4 separate regions of the Homo sapiens genome follow, and regions 1, 3 and 4 are each linked to region 2. Evidence: promoter capture Hi-C in 16 types of primary human blood cells and fetal thymus (Javierre and others, 2016). All regions are on one chromosome and are shown on one strand. The core of a region is centred on a gene start or on the middle of the fragment in contact, and the rest is flanking DNA. Distances in the headings are between cores, read along the strand shown.

Region 1 (3,536 bases), core at 97-2,596, 400 kb after region 2:
TTATATCAGGCAATTCGAGCATTTACCTTCTTGCCCTCAGAGTTGCTGCTAACAGCTGGTCAGGTAAGCTTCCCTCCACACCCTGTCGGGAATGGAAATATATCAACTTTGCCCCTCCCTCTGTGGAACTTTTCCAGTGCCATTTTGGAATCCAGAGTAAAATCATCATTGATAGATTAAAGGGAAAAGAAAAGAGTGGCATATATTTTTAAAACAAATGCTATGCTTTTAACTACATTGAATATTTAACTTAATATGCTTATATTTTCTTTGCTCTTTCCAATTTTATAGAGCCCTCAAAGCAATACTTGGCTCACACTTTTCAATTCAAATTTCTATACTAGAAGACCATGAAGCAGAAATGTATTTTACTTCATATACACATTGTCTTAGATGATTTCTTATATTTGAATTTTTGCATTATTCTAAAATCTTTCTAAGTTATTACATAGGATTTGCAAAATGTGCTCTAAGCTACTTCAAAGTTTTTGCTTTCCTGCAGTAGGTGTGTGGTAGGGATGAGAATTATTATTTGATTATTGACACACATATTTTACAACTGAAAACACAAAACTTTTTAAACTTAGCCAAAGCATGTTCTGATGTTACTTTTGGTTCTAGCACTCTACAATCGTGTTATGTTACTGACTGTAAACATGAGGGTCAGTGGATAGGGCAAAAAGTGTGGAGCAACTAGGAGAAAGCTAGGAAGAGTCAAACTCCAGGAACTGACATGTCTTAAGGACAAACGAGGACCCCTCTCTGACCTGGTTCTCCTACTGAGCCCTTTATCTTCCTTTTCTAACTTGTTGTCAGACAACAATATTATCTGAACCATGACCCTACAAATACATTAGGTGTAGAGAAATTCAAAGGAAAACTTTCTAAAATGGAGAGATGGCCTTTATGGAAAATATAAACTACTTATGTAGCTAGTGTATAAATAAAACAAGTTTTATAAGATATTGACCAGTGGAAATTAATGACTAAGCATCCAGAGTTTTTCTGAATTATCAATAGTAAGCATAGAAAAGAAACGTGCTGTTAGTTTTCTTTACTCCTTGATCATTTGAAAATAATTATTTTTTTTTCTAAATTCTTCCACAAAATTCTAAAAACCAGTCTAGTCATTGGTTATGATTTGCAAGAGTTTGGAAAATTTTAACACGTGAATTATTTAATATTTTATGTCATTGATTACTACTTCATGTTGCCCATCATAGCCTTTCCAAAAGGGTATACCATTCATATTCAGAACAGGATGAGTTCTTGCCTGGCTTCCTGGAAGTAGGTGTCACATCTGTTACTGTTGGGGGATAATATTCAAATTTCACTGGGCTTCTGGGTACCTGAGAAGAGTATAAACTTGTTTGAATGTCTTTAATCTAGATTTGCATCTGTTTATCCTCTTAAATAATTCAACAAAGATCTAACTACAGATGACTGTGCCCTACAAGCCTAAAAATTTGGTGTGGTGCGATTGCTCAATGAGCGAAGATGAAATCTGACACTAAATGTAGCTAAACATTAAGGTAGCTTGATAAATCACTAACAAGGGGATGAGAATTTCTTGAGCACTTACTAAATGTCAAGCTGCATTTGGTACTTTACACATGTAATATATCACTGAATGGCTGAAGAAAGCGAGCCTCTCTAGTACCCGTGACTTCAAGTGCCAGAGAATTACACTAGGGTTTGAAAGAAATTTGGAGGTCAACTAGCCTGACAGTGCTATTCAAGGCAAGCTAAAAAAAAAAAAAAATAGTTCTATGTCAACAGGCCGTAAAAATAATGTTTACTTCATCAAGTATAGAGCTAGATGATTCCTCCTAGGTATGTTACAACTCAGCAAGAATTATGAGCCAATCAATAAATCTTTCAGCAATTAGCCTTTTTCTGCCTAGAATTAAAAATTTAAGGAGGCCAGAATGATTCAGCAATCAAAGTCTTTGCCAGTTTATGATGCAAAATGATATGATTAATATTCCCCTACTGATAAAGGCAGTATTTTTGAAATATTACAAAGGGGCTCTTTGTCATTTAATTTTAAAACCCAATATTGAGAAAAGAAAACATGTTTATAGGAAAAATATCAGCATAGACACTTTCAACCTAATGAAAAAATGCATCTTTTATCTAAAGCAGACAGTTTTCCTGATGTTTATCTTGTATCCTCCAAATTTAAGAGTCTTATAACACATAAAAAGAGGAAAAAATCTATTAAAACAACAATAAAGACTAAAACACAAACTCATTTCAAAACTTGCAATCACTCTTAAGATATCCAAAGCCCTTAGTTCTTTCAGCTTCAAAACTGACATCTCCAGGATTGAAAAAATGTCAGCTGTCCACCCCAATATGACAGAGACATAGAGATCAAAGACAGGCAAAGCTATGAGACAGCAAAGAACACATAGAAAAAGCAGTAAACTTGCAATCAGAAGAAGCAGGCCCTGGGCTGAATCTTACTAGCCTGAGACCTCAGGCAACTACATCATGAAAACTTCAATTTTCTCGCCCTTAAAAAAATAAGAATAATAATATGGTTTTCCAAGCTCTTATGTGTTTACAACTATTCACGTTTTTAATATAATTACATAGAATTAGTATTGCACAAAGCTTTATTTTCTTAGCCAAATCTTTATAACATTATCTATTTCTTCCAAAACTGTAAATGAGGACTTCATCCTTCAAATCATGGCTTACAAACTACAGCCTGCAGGCCAAATCCAGCCCTCTGCCTGTTTTTGTAAATAAAGTTTTATTGGAACGAAACACATCCATTCATTTATTACTGTCTATGGCTGCTTTTGCTCTACAATGACAGAGTTGAACAGTGGTAGTGGAGAAGAAATCACATGGCCTGCAAAGCTGCAAATATTTACTATCTGTCCCCTTACTGAAAAGTTTGCTGATCCCTGCTTTAAATGATGAAATACCATGGTTTTTAAAACCTTTGAAGTTTTTATATCCTAGATATATAACCTCTATTTACATACAATAAATATTGTAATATGCTAACAAGAAACATATTTTCTTAAATCTAAAATGTACATTTTGCCCGGGCGCAGTGGCTCACACCTGTAAACCCAGCACATTAGGAGGCTGACACCAGCAGATCACTTGAGGTCAGGAGTTCAAGACCAGCCTGGCCAACATGGCAAAACCTCATCTCTACTAAAAATACAAAAATTAGCCTGGTGTCGTGGCGCACGCCTGTAAGCCCAGCTACAGGAGGCTATAATCCCTGCCTCAGGAGGCTGAGGCAGGAGAATCACTTGAACTGGGGAGACAGAGGTGTTGCTGTAAGCCAAGATCACGCCACTGCACTCCAGCCTGGGCAACAGAGTGAGACTCTGTCTCAATAAAAAAAAAAATAAATAAAAATAAAAATAAATAAATAAAATGTATGTTTTGATTAGATCTTAACCCCAAGCAAAACCCTAATGCCCTTCAGTATTACAGTAAAATAACAGCCTAGACATTCATTTGTTGAACAATTATGTATCAAGTGCCTATAATGTGTCAGGCACTGC
Region 2 (3,865 bases), core at 1,349-3,848:
TCCCCAGAAACAATCAAACCTCAGTGCACCCTTTCTCTTGGTATTTACTTTCATATTTAGAAATAATTGTGTATATGACTATTTTTAACCCCACAATTTTTGACATTATAAATTGCCTTCCTAATTTAGGGCTGATGATTAATTTTCTTTTATCACTTACCGTACTTCACTTCCTCTCTCCAAGTGTTTGCCTTATTGCAACTAAATAGTATTCGCTGCTAAGCCAATTAATCAATAATGGATGCATTGCTTTTTTTACACGTCTGTTTTTCCTTATGTCACTATTGCCTTCCCCTCTTTTCTTGTTTTCACTTTTTAAAAATCTATGGCAAATTCCCCTCCCACCAAATATTCTACAGATCACTCAAGCTCTTTCAGTAATTTCTTCGTATGCTCAACCACATATGAGTAATCTATCACTCCCATTTCTCATCTCCCACAGTTTCCCCCCTGCTGGTGAGTGCAGGTTTATTTAGTCTGTAAGATTTTCATTCCCGAAGCAGAATTTTCATAAACAGAGACCAATTTTTTCTATTATTATACCTTATTTAGTCAATGATCAATTAATTTCTTGTTAATTTGGTAAACAAATTGTTTTCCTTAAACTTTAAAGCACACTGCTAACACAGCAAATACGTTATTTTAAACATTTAAGCATTGATGATAAAGCTTAATGTATCAGATGTTTTAAAGATGTAATCACTTTAAAGAACAAACTTACAAAATTAACAACTATATCATTAATATAAGCATTTGTACAATAATAAACTGAATAAATCAACACTTATAAATCTGTTAAACTAGATTCTCCTAAGACTTTCAAACATGTTTTAAAATACAACTGTACAACAGTGATTATAAAACTTATTTCTAGCACCCCACTAGTAATACTGTGGGTTTTATACACTTTATCTTCACTCTATCTTTTTATATTTCCTAGGGTGATGGTAATGCTTATTTTAATACTTTTCTGGGGTTAAATTAATAACAGACCATCTCCTATTCACAAAAACAATAGGATGGGGCTGCCAGATTGATGGTTGGGACATGGGCTCTGACTGACCTGACACTGCTACTTTTCAGGTCATACTGCTTTTTAAAGCCAAACAAATGTAAGGACCATTTTGCAGTTTGGTCCTACATTGGGATTTTGCAAAGACAACTATTAAATTTGCTTTTTTCTTTTTTTTGCCAAATGCCTTTCCTTGAAATGAAATACTATTTGAGGTTCTCGTGCATCTGATTTGCGTAACACAGAGTTCTATCCACAAGTTGGCTTTCAAAGTCTCCTGGTTTAATATTTAGGCCTTCAGGTTGGTTTTTGTAACCACTGTGCCTGTCAACCTAGGTGCCTATAGTCACTATTCCTACACAGCAGTCGTATATGAATCATCACACAGCATTTCTTGTAAACATTATTGAAATTATTTCCTGCCTCCTTTAAACTCATCTTACATTTTTTTTTTTTTTTTTTTTTTTTTTTGAGAGAGAGTCTCGCTTTGTCCCTCAGGCTGGAGTGCAGTGGTGCAATCTTGGCTCACTGCAACCTCTGCCTCCCAGGTTCAAGCGATTCTTCTGCCTCAGCCTCCTGAGTAGCTGGGACTACAGGCCCATGTCACGACACCCGGCTAATTTTTGTATTTTTAGTAGAGACTGGGTTTCACCATATTGGCCAGGCTGGGTCTCGAACTCCTGACCTCGTGATCCGCCCCCCTCAGCCTCCCAAAGTGCTGGGATTACAAGCGTGAGCCACCGCGCCTGGCCCATTTTACTTGTTTTATCTGAATTTACTAAAGGACTCTTTCTTGGCTTTGTTGTAACATGTATTTCAATTAACACATACTGGTTTTTGTTCTTGAGCAAATTCTCACAACTTGTCTACTGGGAATCTCTGTAAATTGGTTACTTTCTTTTTACACTATCCCAACACTTTTGCTTTCTGGCAACAGTATCGTCCTCATTTTGATTTTTTTCCAGTCCAAAAACATACTATCAACGCCTCTCCTGGTTTCTTTTAAAGGAGGAGGAATGTCAAGTACAAATTCTGAATACTGAGAGCATACGAGTTTCGGTACCGACAAATAAATACTGCTGCTGTTGTTTTTCCTGGAGGTCCCAGGCCTCACAGCCCCTTCCAGCGCCCAACATAAACTTCACCAGGGTGGGAGGCCTCATTGTACCTACTTCCAGCTCCTGCAGGATGAGTGGAGCCCAGGCAGGACTTTCACCCCCCAGCTCCGCGCCCATTCGCCCTGGCCTCCCCTCCCCGCGCCTGGACCCATAGGGCACACAGCCAAGTGCAGCCAAGTCCCTGCCCTTAGGGAGCCCCCGCCAGAGACCGAGTAAAGAAGGACAGCCCCAGGGAAAGGTCTGGAGCAACAGGTGCGCTGAGCACTTCACTGGGCTTCCCTTTCGTAGGTTCCCGCCCTTTTCCTGGGCTCAAGAGCAGGTAACGAGAATCCAGCGTGTGGGAACCACTCCCAAAGTCAAACACCTACCCCAGTTCTCCGCGCAGCTGCCCAGGAGCGAAGTGAGACCGGGTCGGAGAGGCGGGAATAGAGATGTCTGAGCGGCGCCGGGTGTTAGTTCCCAGTGAATGGGGAGGCGGGCGGAGTCGGGCCCAGCCAGGCACCACCTAGCGGGCGCCTGGGCAGGAGGGCGGGGCGGGTCCCGCAGGCCGCGGGGATCTCCTGATGTGCAGGAAGTGGCCAATCTCTGTGCAGGAAAAAGCCCCAACTGTCCGGGAGTTTTCAGTCAAGAAGCGATAATGCGCTTTGGCTATTTGGGGTTTTTCGTGGTTCCATACAAATTATAGGGTTTTTTTTTTTTTCTATTTCTGTGAAGAATGACATTGGTATTTTGACAGGGATTGCATTCAATCTGTAAATTGTTTGGGTAGCATTGTACTTTTAACATTAATTATTCCAACCTATGAGCATGAATATGTGTCCATTTTCTGTGTGTGTTCTTCACGTTTTTCTCATCAGTGTTTTATAGTTGTCCTTGTAGAAGTCTTTCACTTTTTTAATTAAATTGATTACTAGGTATTTTATACATCATATTTCTTATAGCTATTGTAAGTGGGATTTCTTTCTTGATTTCTTTTTCAGACTGTTCACTGTAGATGTATAGACATCTTACGGATATTTTATATCCATTTTGTATTCTGCAACTTTACTGATTCATTTATTAGTTCTAGTAGTTTTTGAGGGGAGTCTTTTGGTTTTTCCGATTATAAGATTATACCATTGGTGAGCAAAGCTAATTTTACATCTTTCTTTCCAGTTTGGGTGTCCTTTGTTTCTTTTTCTTGCCTAATTGCCCCGGCCAGGACTTCCAGTCAGATACTGAATAAAGGGGGTGAAACTGGGCATCCTTGTCTTGTTGCAGATCTTATAGGAAAGGTTTTCAATTTTTCCCTGTTCAGTATGATATTAGCAGTGGGTTTTTCATTTTGGTTTTTATTGTTTTGAGGTATATTCCTTCTATACCCAATGTGTTAAGGATTTTTATCATAAAGAGATGTAGGATTTTACTGAATACATTTTCGGCATCTATTGAAATGATCGTGCAGTTTTTGTTGTTGGTTCTTTTAATGCAATGTATCGCATTTATTGATTTGTGTATATTGAATCATACTTGCATACCCGGGTGAATCTCACTTGATCGTGGTGAGTGATCTGTTTAATGTGTTGTTGAATTGGAGTTGCTAGCAATTTTTTGAGGATTTTTTCTGTTTTTTACCTGTTGATATGACGGATTCCTTTGATTTTCAAATGTTGAATTAGTCTTGTACACCTGCAATCAATCTTACTTAGTCACAATGTATAATCCAACTATTTTACACATAGTTTGATTTCATTTG
Region 3 (3,857 bases), core at 1,028-3,527, 360 kb after region 2:
TAAAAATGGAATCTGAAACTCTAACACTAAAGTATCAGCTATTGCTCCCCAAGGTGAATTTCCACATTAACATTTCTCTGTGGATTTCCCATACCAGGGGATGAGAAAGGAATAATGGGATAAGAAACTTGTCAAATCCTCTGCTGTGGGGAGAGCTGTAGGTTGTCGTTACCCCTGCACTATGCTTAAGTGAAGATGAAGACTAGGTGGCCCCAGCTGTGGATGGGAACGACAAGTCTTGATGGGAGAGCTGCGTGTTTCTCATTTAACACAGACAGAGAAAAACTCAGGAAGAAAGGCTCTGATATAAAGGAAAGAATGTAAACCCAAGACAGGCATCATCCTATTTTCAGGACCCCCAAGATATTGTGATCCATGGCTATGTGTAAACAGTTCTCCAGCAAGCGTTTCCGTGCATTTGGCTTCATGCAGTCCCCTCACTGGCTCCCCTTGGCCGCTCCACATTTGCTGAAATTGCTCCACCATCTGCAGTGCCTTCCCTACCTCCTAGGCCTGGGCTTGCCCTTCCAACCCTGCAAAACCTATCTCAAGTCCCTTCCCAAAGCTTGTGCACTGCATGGCACCCCACGCAGTGACAAGTCCAGGGCTTCATTCACAGCAGGTTGTCAAGAAGTGTTTTTTGTTTGTTTGTTTCTTTGTTTTTGTTTTTTTGCAATGAATGACCCACCCATACTCTACCATTTGTTTTGCTTTCAACCCAGGAATTAATCTTCTTTCGACTTTCATCGGCTGCATTTACAAAATCAACAGGTTCCAGAGATGCATGATAATATTTTTCAACATAATCTAAGTATTTCTTTAGGAGAAACAAGGAAGGAATAAAAAGAGGTTAAAAACTCAATTTATCAATTGCCAACATCTCTAAATAAATTTATGTATACATTAGGATGACTAATACAGTAAGAGAAATTTTAAGGCCCTGGGCATCTCACATTGAGTTCCTGCTGCACATTTTTATGCAGCTATTCTGGGGATGAGGCAAAAATCAGGTTCAGATTGCCAGGACTAAAAAGGAACTCCCTGCAGTTCTGAATATCTGTAGATCAGGATGGAAAAGCACCACAGGGATGTGGCCAGAGCCAGGCAGCACGACTTCAGGACCCATAGTCCTACCAGGGCCATTTGGCCATTCCAGAATACCACTCACAGATATGGTAGGCATGGCAAACTTACTTGAAGGAAGAGGTATGTTTTTTCTCCAAACAGCCTGTTGGTTATGTTCAGTTCATAATCATTAGTGAGTTTGCTTATTTCAGTCAAAAACTTTTGGAATTGTTGATGTACTGCTTCTGTGTTCTCAATCTTGAAAATTAAAACAAAATCTCAACAGGTTATCTTGGCAAAAGCAAGCCCAGATTCTCCCCTAAGAGGATGCGGCTGCTGGGTCTCTCCCTCCGTTTGTCAGCCTCAAGGGTGATCCCTGTGTTTGATGTGGCCCCTGGATATCAGGTAGCCTTTACCCAAGTCATATGATAATGTCAGTTATGACCAATCTCAGCTCCAGAGAGAAGCCTTCTCTGCCAGCCCAACACCACAGATCTTGCATTTATAACTCAAGTTGTGGGCTTTTTTGGTCTCAAATAAAAGTGCTCACTAAATGTTCAATAAGCTTGTTTTTAGCTCCCCACAAGATTCTAAGCATCTAAGGAAAGTAAGTGATTTCTCCGGACGATTCTTATCTATTGAAGTTTGGAAATTTTTCCAGATAGTGAATAAGAAGAGTGACTCCTAATGGTATGAGTCACTACACATTGGGCTGAAGTGAGATTTATCCTTGTCTCCAGGGGAAAAAAAAAATTTTCTGAATATTTTATGTAGGACCCATCAGTTTTCTGATTGAAGTTTTCATATTCTATGTTACCTTAACGACATATCTAGAATGTCATTATTTCAACATATAAATACAATAAATATTAATTACATATTAATATATAAGATACATATTTCAGCAAAAATAATACATGAAAATTAATATTTTGTATTCCTTTCTCATACTAAGTTCTTAAAATATAATATGCATTTTATACCTATAGCACATCTGGATTCAAACTAGATGTATTGCAAGTGTTCAATAGCCACTTGAGTAGCTACTATACTGGATAGCTTGGGACTGGATAAACTCTCACCCAGGCAAATTAGGAGGCTGGCATTAAAAAGGCCATTTTTGCATTGTTTGTAGAAGGAAGGAAGGAAGGAAAGAAAAAAGGAAGGAAGGAGGGAAGGAAGGAAGGAAGGAAGGAAAGAAAAAAGGAAGGAAGGAGGGAAGGAAGGAAGGAAGGAAGGCCGGCCCCATCAACAAAATAAATGAGGAAATAGCTATAAAAATGAATCAAATAGAGCTATAAGTATCCCCTTAAAATAGATGAATCTTATAAACATGATGCTAAGCCAAAAATAATCAAGTTCCAAAGAAGAATGACAAAAATATATGGCATGTAATGAAATAATAAATACGTGGGAATAATGAACACCTAATCCACAATAGTGGGACTTCCTCTCTGAGGAGAGGATGGGGGCGTGCTCAAGGAAGGTGTTATACATCAGCCTAAGGGGCATCAGCTGATTTGGTAATAGTTTATTTTGTACACTTAAAGGAGGGGTTAAAGTGTGTTTATTGCATTTTTCCTTATACCTTTTGTACATATGTCTTGAGATTTTATCAGCATTTTTTAAAAGCAAGATTCAAAATACTCTGAATTTACATAATAATCAAACGGGTACATGCCAAGCCAGTCTCTGGGCAAACTATTAAATGAGGAGATTGGAGTAGATGACCTCTAAGATGTATTCCAGTGCTAATATCCTTTCAGTCAGTAATTCTATTCTCTTCATACCCCTGTGGCTCCCAGGAAAATTCTGGGGAATGGGCAAAACTGCTAGACAGCATGTATGTGTAAGCTTTGCCTTACACAAAGCTGAAATTCAGTTTCCACCCCAGTCATCTAGCCCTTCACATAGGAGTAGGGCAGCTATCCAAAAGAATGAGCTGTTTTCTAATTTGCACAAAGGTTCTACATGGGCTATCATGGCTGAGAAAGAATGTGCTCTGAAGACAACTGCACTTCTCAGTTGAGGGAACATTGCAGTGGCCATATGACCCAACTTGGTTGCGCAAACCCTGAAAGGAAGCCTGACCCTCCACAGGAGCAACTGAGCCACCCACACGACCTAGCCTTTTGGGGTTGTGAAATGAGCAGCTCCTATTGCTGGGTGATCTGAGCCATGGTTTTATGAGGGTCTGGAATTGCACTATGACTACTGTCAGAGCAGCTGTGCCCTTCCTGAGAGTGCTAACGTCTGATCCTAGCCCCGACCTAATGGGCTTATTCCTTTCCCATATTTGAGTAGACTCTCCTTTGGATGGCGAATACAGGAACACTGGAGCTGGAAAAGACCTCAGGAAGTCATTGGGCCTGTAATAATTTTTTAAATACAACATCAGCACGGGGTTAAAAATATGAGTGGAGTTTAGCAATAATATCACCTACTGCTACTACCACCACCACCACTGGCTCAGTTGCCAGATGCCCCTACTGCGGACTTTACAGAGGCTGAAAGAAGATAAATAACTTGCCCAAAGTAGCATCGCTCTTAAGTGACTGAGCCAGGACTTGGACCTAAGTCTGTTTAACTCCAAAACCCATCCACTCTGCTATGGGAACTTTTCTGTCTATTAGCCTTTACCAGTTCTATCATAGCGGTATTGTCCATTACACCTAAGGTCTCTTCTCAATATTAAGGGGTTATTATTATTGTATAATCCTTACAACAATATTTGTCTATGGTGATTATTATTGCTTAATAGTAAAGCAACAATATTGCTTTCATGCCTTTCT
Region 4 (3,877 bases), core at 85-2,584, 460 kb after region 2:
CAATCACTAATCAAAGGAGCCAGAAGGGTCACTCTATGACAGCAAAGGCTGTGTGGATGCCGTCAGGGCCAGTGGGGCCAACACCCCTCCCTAACTCACAGTAGAGGCTGGGTAAAGTCACGTTCCACTTCCACTCCAGATAAAAGACAATACTGAGAAGGTCAAAAAGCCATGCTTAAAACTCAAGGACCTGTGTGTGCAAAACACAAGAGTGTGAAGAGCATAAGCTATGTCTCTAGAATCTCAGACAGACCTCTTGTGTGCAGGGTCAATCCTGTCTCTGCAGTCAGCTTTGAGAAGACCACTGCAGTTGGGAAGCTAAACTCAGGAAGTTAGGAGGACCTCCTACCCATCCCTCAGCTCCCATGGATATTTTGAGTTGGTAAGGAGCAGTAACAGTCATCATTGTCTTCTCCCAGTGAAAATGCCCAATGGGTCTTGCATAGGAAACCATGGTAGTCCCAAAGGCCAGTCAGGTTTTGTCTGCTATTGATTGTTTAAGCAAACTGACCCTTAGGGACTGATCATTCATTCAGCAAATTTGCTGAGCACCTACTGATGTGTTAGGGACTTGGCCAGAAATTGTAGACACTGAGGTGAATAAGGCATTGTCCCTACCTTAAAAATCCCATGCGCTAGTAGGGGATCTATGTAAGTAAACAGATTTCACTGTGGAAAAGCAAATTCTGGCAGTGGACAGGGGAGAGTATGAATAAAAATTCCATGGGAACAAAGAAAGAAAGAGTAATGGAAGCCATCCGGCTAACCCAGGCATAGATTGTATCTTGCAGGGCTTTTCCTCATGGATGCTAGCATTAAGAAGGTGCTACTATATTTGGCAAAAACAAGATATTGATGCTAAGTACTCTAACTACTGGGAGAAGCATGAAAACTAGAACTGACGCGTAGGAGCTACAGGTAACTAAGCTACCTTCAAGTATTGTACTAACTGAAGTGCTGCTTCCAGTCTAACACAAGTCAGATCCCACCCACGGAGACCACATCACATCATCATATAGATGTCTGGGTTTTCCAATAAAATGGGTCAAATTTCCAGTCTCAGTTCCTTGATCTCATTTACAAAAGAGGTACTTTACCCATTTCTTTTTTTTTTTTTTTTTTTTTTTTGAGATGGAGTCTCACTTTGTCACCCAGGCTGGAGTGCAGTGGCACAATCTCAGCTCACTGCAACCTCTGCCTCCTGGGTTCAAGCCATTCTCCTGTCTCAGCCTCCTGAGCAGCTGGGATTACAGGCACATGCCACCATGCCCAGCTAATTTTTGTATTTTTAGTAGAGATGGGGTTTTACTATGTTGGTCAGGCTGGTCTCAAACTCCTGACCTCGTGATCTGCCTGCCTCGACTTCCCAAGGTGCTGGGATTACAGGCATGAGCCACTGTGCCCACCCTCTATTAATTATTTAACATATTTACTTCAACAGTATCAATGAGACTGGCCTGCAAAACAGGCCCTTAATTCTTCCCATAATGACTTCCAGTGATGTCAATGAGTAAGCCATACTTTGTTTTTTCACAGCCAACAAGTGCCTGAAAGCATCTGGTCTTGTTGTTTGTTTGTTTGTTTGTTTTTCTTGAGGTGGAGTTTCACTCTTGTTGCCCAAGCTGGAGTGCAGTGGTGCAGTCTCGGCTGACTGCAACCTCTGTCTCCCAGGGTCTGATTCTCCTGCCTCAGCCTCCCATGTAGCTGAGATTACAGGCACCCACAACCATGCCCAGCTAATTTTTGTATTTTTAGTAGAGACAGGGTTTCACCATGTTGGCCAGGCTGGTCTCCAACTCCTGACCTCAGGTGATCTGCCCTCCTCGGCTTCCCAAAGTCATGGGATTACAGGCATGAGCCACCACGCCCAGCCATCAAAGCATCTTATAAATTATAAATTAAAATCCCAGAACAATATACTTCGCTATCAACCGATAAGGAAATGAGATGTTAGAGAAGTTAATCAATCAGGAACAAGATTCCTAGATGTCAAGGTTTCATGATAATCCAAAGTCCTCTGATAACAGAGTTTGGTCTTTTCCTTTTCTGCTAAAGTTCTCAGATGTTTGTAGCTATTTTTCAGCTGGTGACTTAGCTTTCCTCGCTGGGTTACAAATTCTATAAAGTTTCACTCAGCTCAGATCCTTGAAGACATTATGGAAAAGAGGAGGGGGGGCCTCTGGATTCTGGCTCTTTTTGTACCACTTACCTTCCAGCTGTTCATCTCAGGAAAGGCACTTTGCCGGCCGTGCCCTCAGGTTCCTCATTGGAATGGATTTATGCCCCACTCTGTCCCTATCATTTTTCACATCTATAATTGGGCTCCTTTTACTGCTACATGCTGCCCCACATACCTTGTTGACTCTGAAAGGACATTCTTTTGTTTCTGATTCAGAAAATTTCTTCATCCACTTGCCAACAAAGTAGGCAGCATTAACCACAAGGATTTTGGTCTGGTCGTTCACACTGTTGTCAGCTAAAATGTTCTCAAAGTGGCCTGCAACAATTTTAGGAAAACACAAGTAGCAGAATTATTCTTCCAAACTACATCTGAAATTCACATGCATATTCACTGAGTATTTACCACTTCATGGAGTCACACCATGTAAGGCCTGATGGTTCCAACCATCAAATTTCAGAAGGACTCCTTTCTCTCCTTCTACCTTGACACAACCAGATCTACCAAAGAGGTCAGCAGAGGAGAATGAAGGAGCAGGGAAGAAAGGAAGAGAAATAAGAAGGAAAGCACAGCTACCATTCTGAATGCCTATTCTGTGTCAGGCAGTATACAAGCTATTTGATACACATTATATATATTTCTTCCTACTTTATGAATGAGGAAGCTGAGACTCAGCGATGATAAGTCACTTTCAAGGATGATATATAAACAAGGGTGGATTCAGGATTCAAAGCCAGCTCTTTCTGACTCCAAAGCCTGTGCTCTTGAATGAAAATACGTAATCACTTTCTTTATGGCAGAATTTCACATATATTATCTCAGTCTTTTCACAATGGTCCTATAAGGCAAAGATCATTATCTCCATTTTACAGTGCAGTAAACTGAGGCTCAGAGAGGCCAAGGAGCTGTTCTAGTTTCCTCAGCTGGAAAACATGTCTGAAGGTTGTCCCCTTCACCCCACAGCTCTCCATCCACTCTCTCAATTGCACTCCTTGCGGGCAGGCTGATTGCCTCAAGGTCAACTGTAATCACCATAGGGCTCAATCACAATTGCAGTTATTATAAAGCTAAATCCCAATAGCCAAAACAATTCAAGGGGAGTGATCCCTTAATAAAAAGAACTCCTCACATTTGAATAGCCCACAGGTTTTTTATAAAGGGTTTTCATTCACCTAATCTCCAATTTTCAGACCAATGTTCAGGGCCCACTTCACAGGCCTGTGACCCCTGTGTGAAGGACCCTGCACTTGGTTTAATGTTCAGCTGTCACTACCTCAAAATTCTTAATAAATGTTTAAACAAGAAGCCCAGCATTTTTACTTTTGCCCTGGACCATGCAAATTATGTAACTGGTCCTGCCAATGCTATATAATATGTTAAATATATATTAGTGTTATTGAAGAAACCTGAAGAACAAAGAAGTGTGGGAGCCGGTAAACGACAGAGCTTCAACTTCAACCCTGAGCCTCCCATTTCAAACTCAGAAGTCTTTTCATGGCTGGATGCGGTGGCTGACACCTGTAATCCCAGCACTTTGGGAGGCTGAGGCGGGTGGATCACCTGAGGTCAGGAGTTTGAGACCAGCCTGGCCAACATGGTGAAACCCCATCTCTACTAAAAATACAAAGATTAGCTGGGCGTAGTGGCACGCACCTGTAGCCCCAGCTACTTGGGAGGCTGAGACAGGAGAATCCCTTG

The links. The method cuts DNA at HindIII sites, captures the fragments that hold promoters and counts their contacts. A CHiCAGO score of 5 or more calls a contact.
Region 1: a fragment that was not itself captured here is called in contact with the fragment with the promoter of HMSD in region 2 in 2 of 17 cell types (non-activated CD4 T cells and naive CD8 T cells); the score reaches 6.1 in non-activated CD4 T cells.
Region 3: a contact is called between a fragment that was not itself captured here and the fragment with the promoter of HMSD in region 2, in 1 of 17 cell types (monocytes). The highest score is 5.9, in monocytes.
Region 4: a contact is called between a fragment that was not itself captured here and the fragment with the promoter of HMSD in region 2, in 1 of 17 cell types (naive CD4 T cells). The highest score is 5.3, in naive CD4 T cells.

What each region holds. Positions count from the first base shown.
Region 1 is chr18:63,543,440-63,546,975 of GRCh38, reverse strand. All of the region lies in intron 1 of SERPINB12 (serpin family B member 12), which reads right to left. Among named protein-coding and RNA genes, the nearest start is that of SERPINB12, 2.8 kb to the right of the region's middle. The HindIII fragment of the contact is 2,551 bases long and covers 71-2,621 here.
Region 2 is chr18:63,948,034-63,951,898 of GRCh38, reverse strand. HMSD (histocompatibility minor serpin domain containing) reads right to left here and starts at 2,598. Exons shown (of 4, transcript NM_001123366.2): 1 at 2,499-2,598. RefSeq lists an enhancer at 309-398 and a silencer at 2,531-2,760. The HindIII fragment of the contact is 6,685 bases long and covers 672-3,865 here.
Region 3 is chr18:63,589,814-63,593,670 of GRCh38, reverse strand. It overlaps SERPINB13 (serpin family B member 13), which reads right to left. Exons shown (of 8, transcript NM_012397.4): 4 at 1,195-1,323; 5 at 700-817. Among named protein-coding and RNA genes, the nearest start is that of SERPINB13, 4.4 kb to the right of the region's middle. RefSeq lists an enhancer at 3,843-3,857. The HindIII fragment of the contact is 1,289 bases long and covers 1,633-2,921 here.
Region 4 is chr18:63,491,573-63,495,449 of GRCh38, reverse strand. SERPINB5 (serpin family B member 5) reads right to left here. Exons shown (of 7, transcript NM_002639.5): 5 at 2,355-2,497. Among named protein-coding and RNA genes, the nearest start is that of SERPINB5, 17 kb to the right of the region's middle. The HindIII fragment of the contact is 6,711 bases long and covers 1-3,877 here.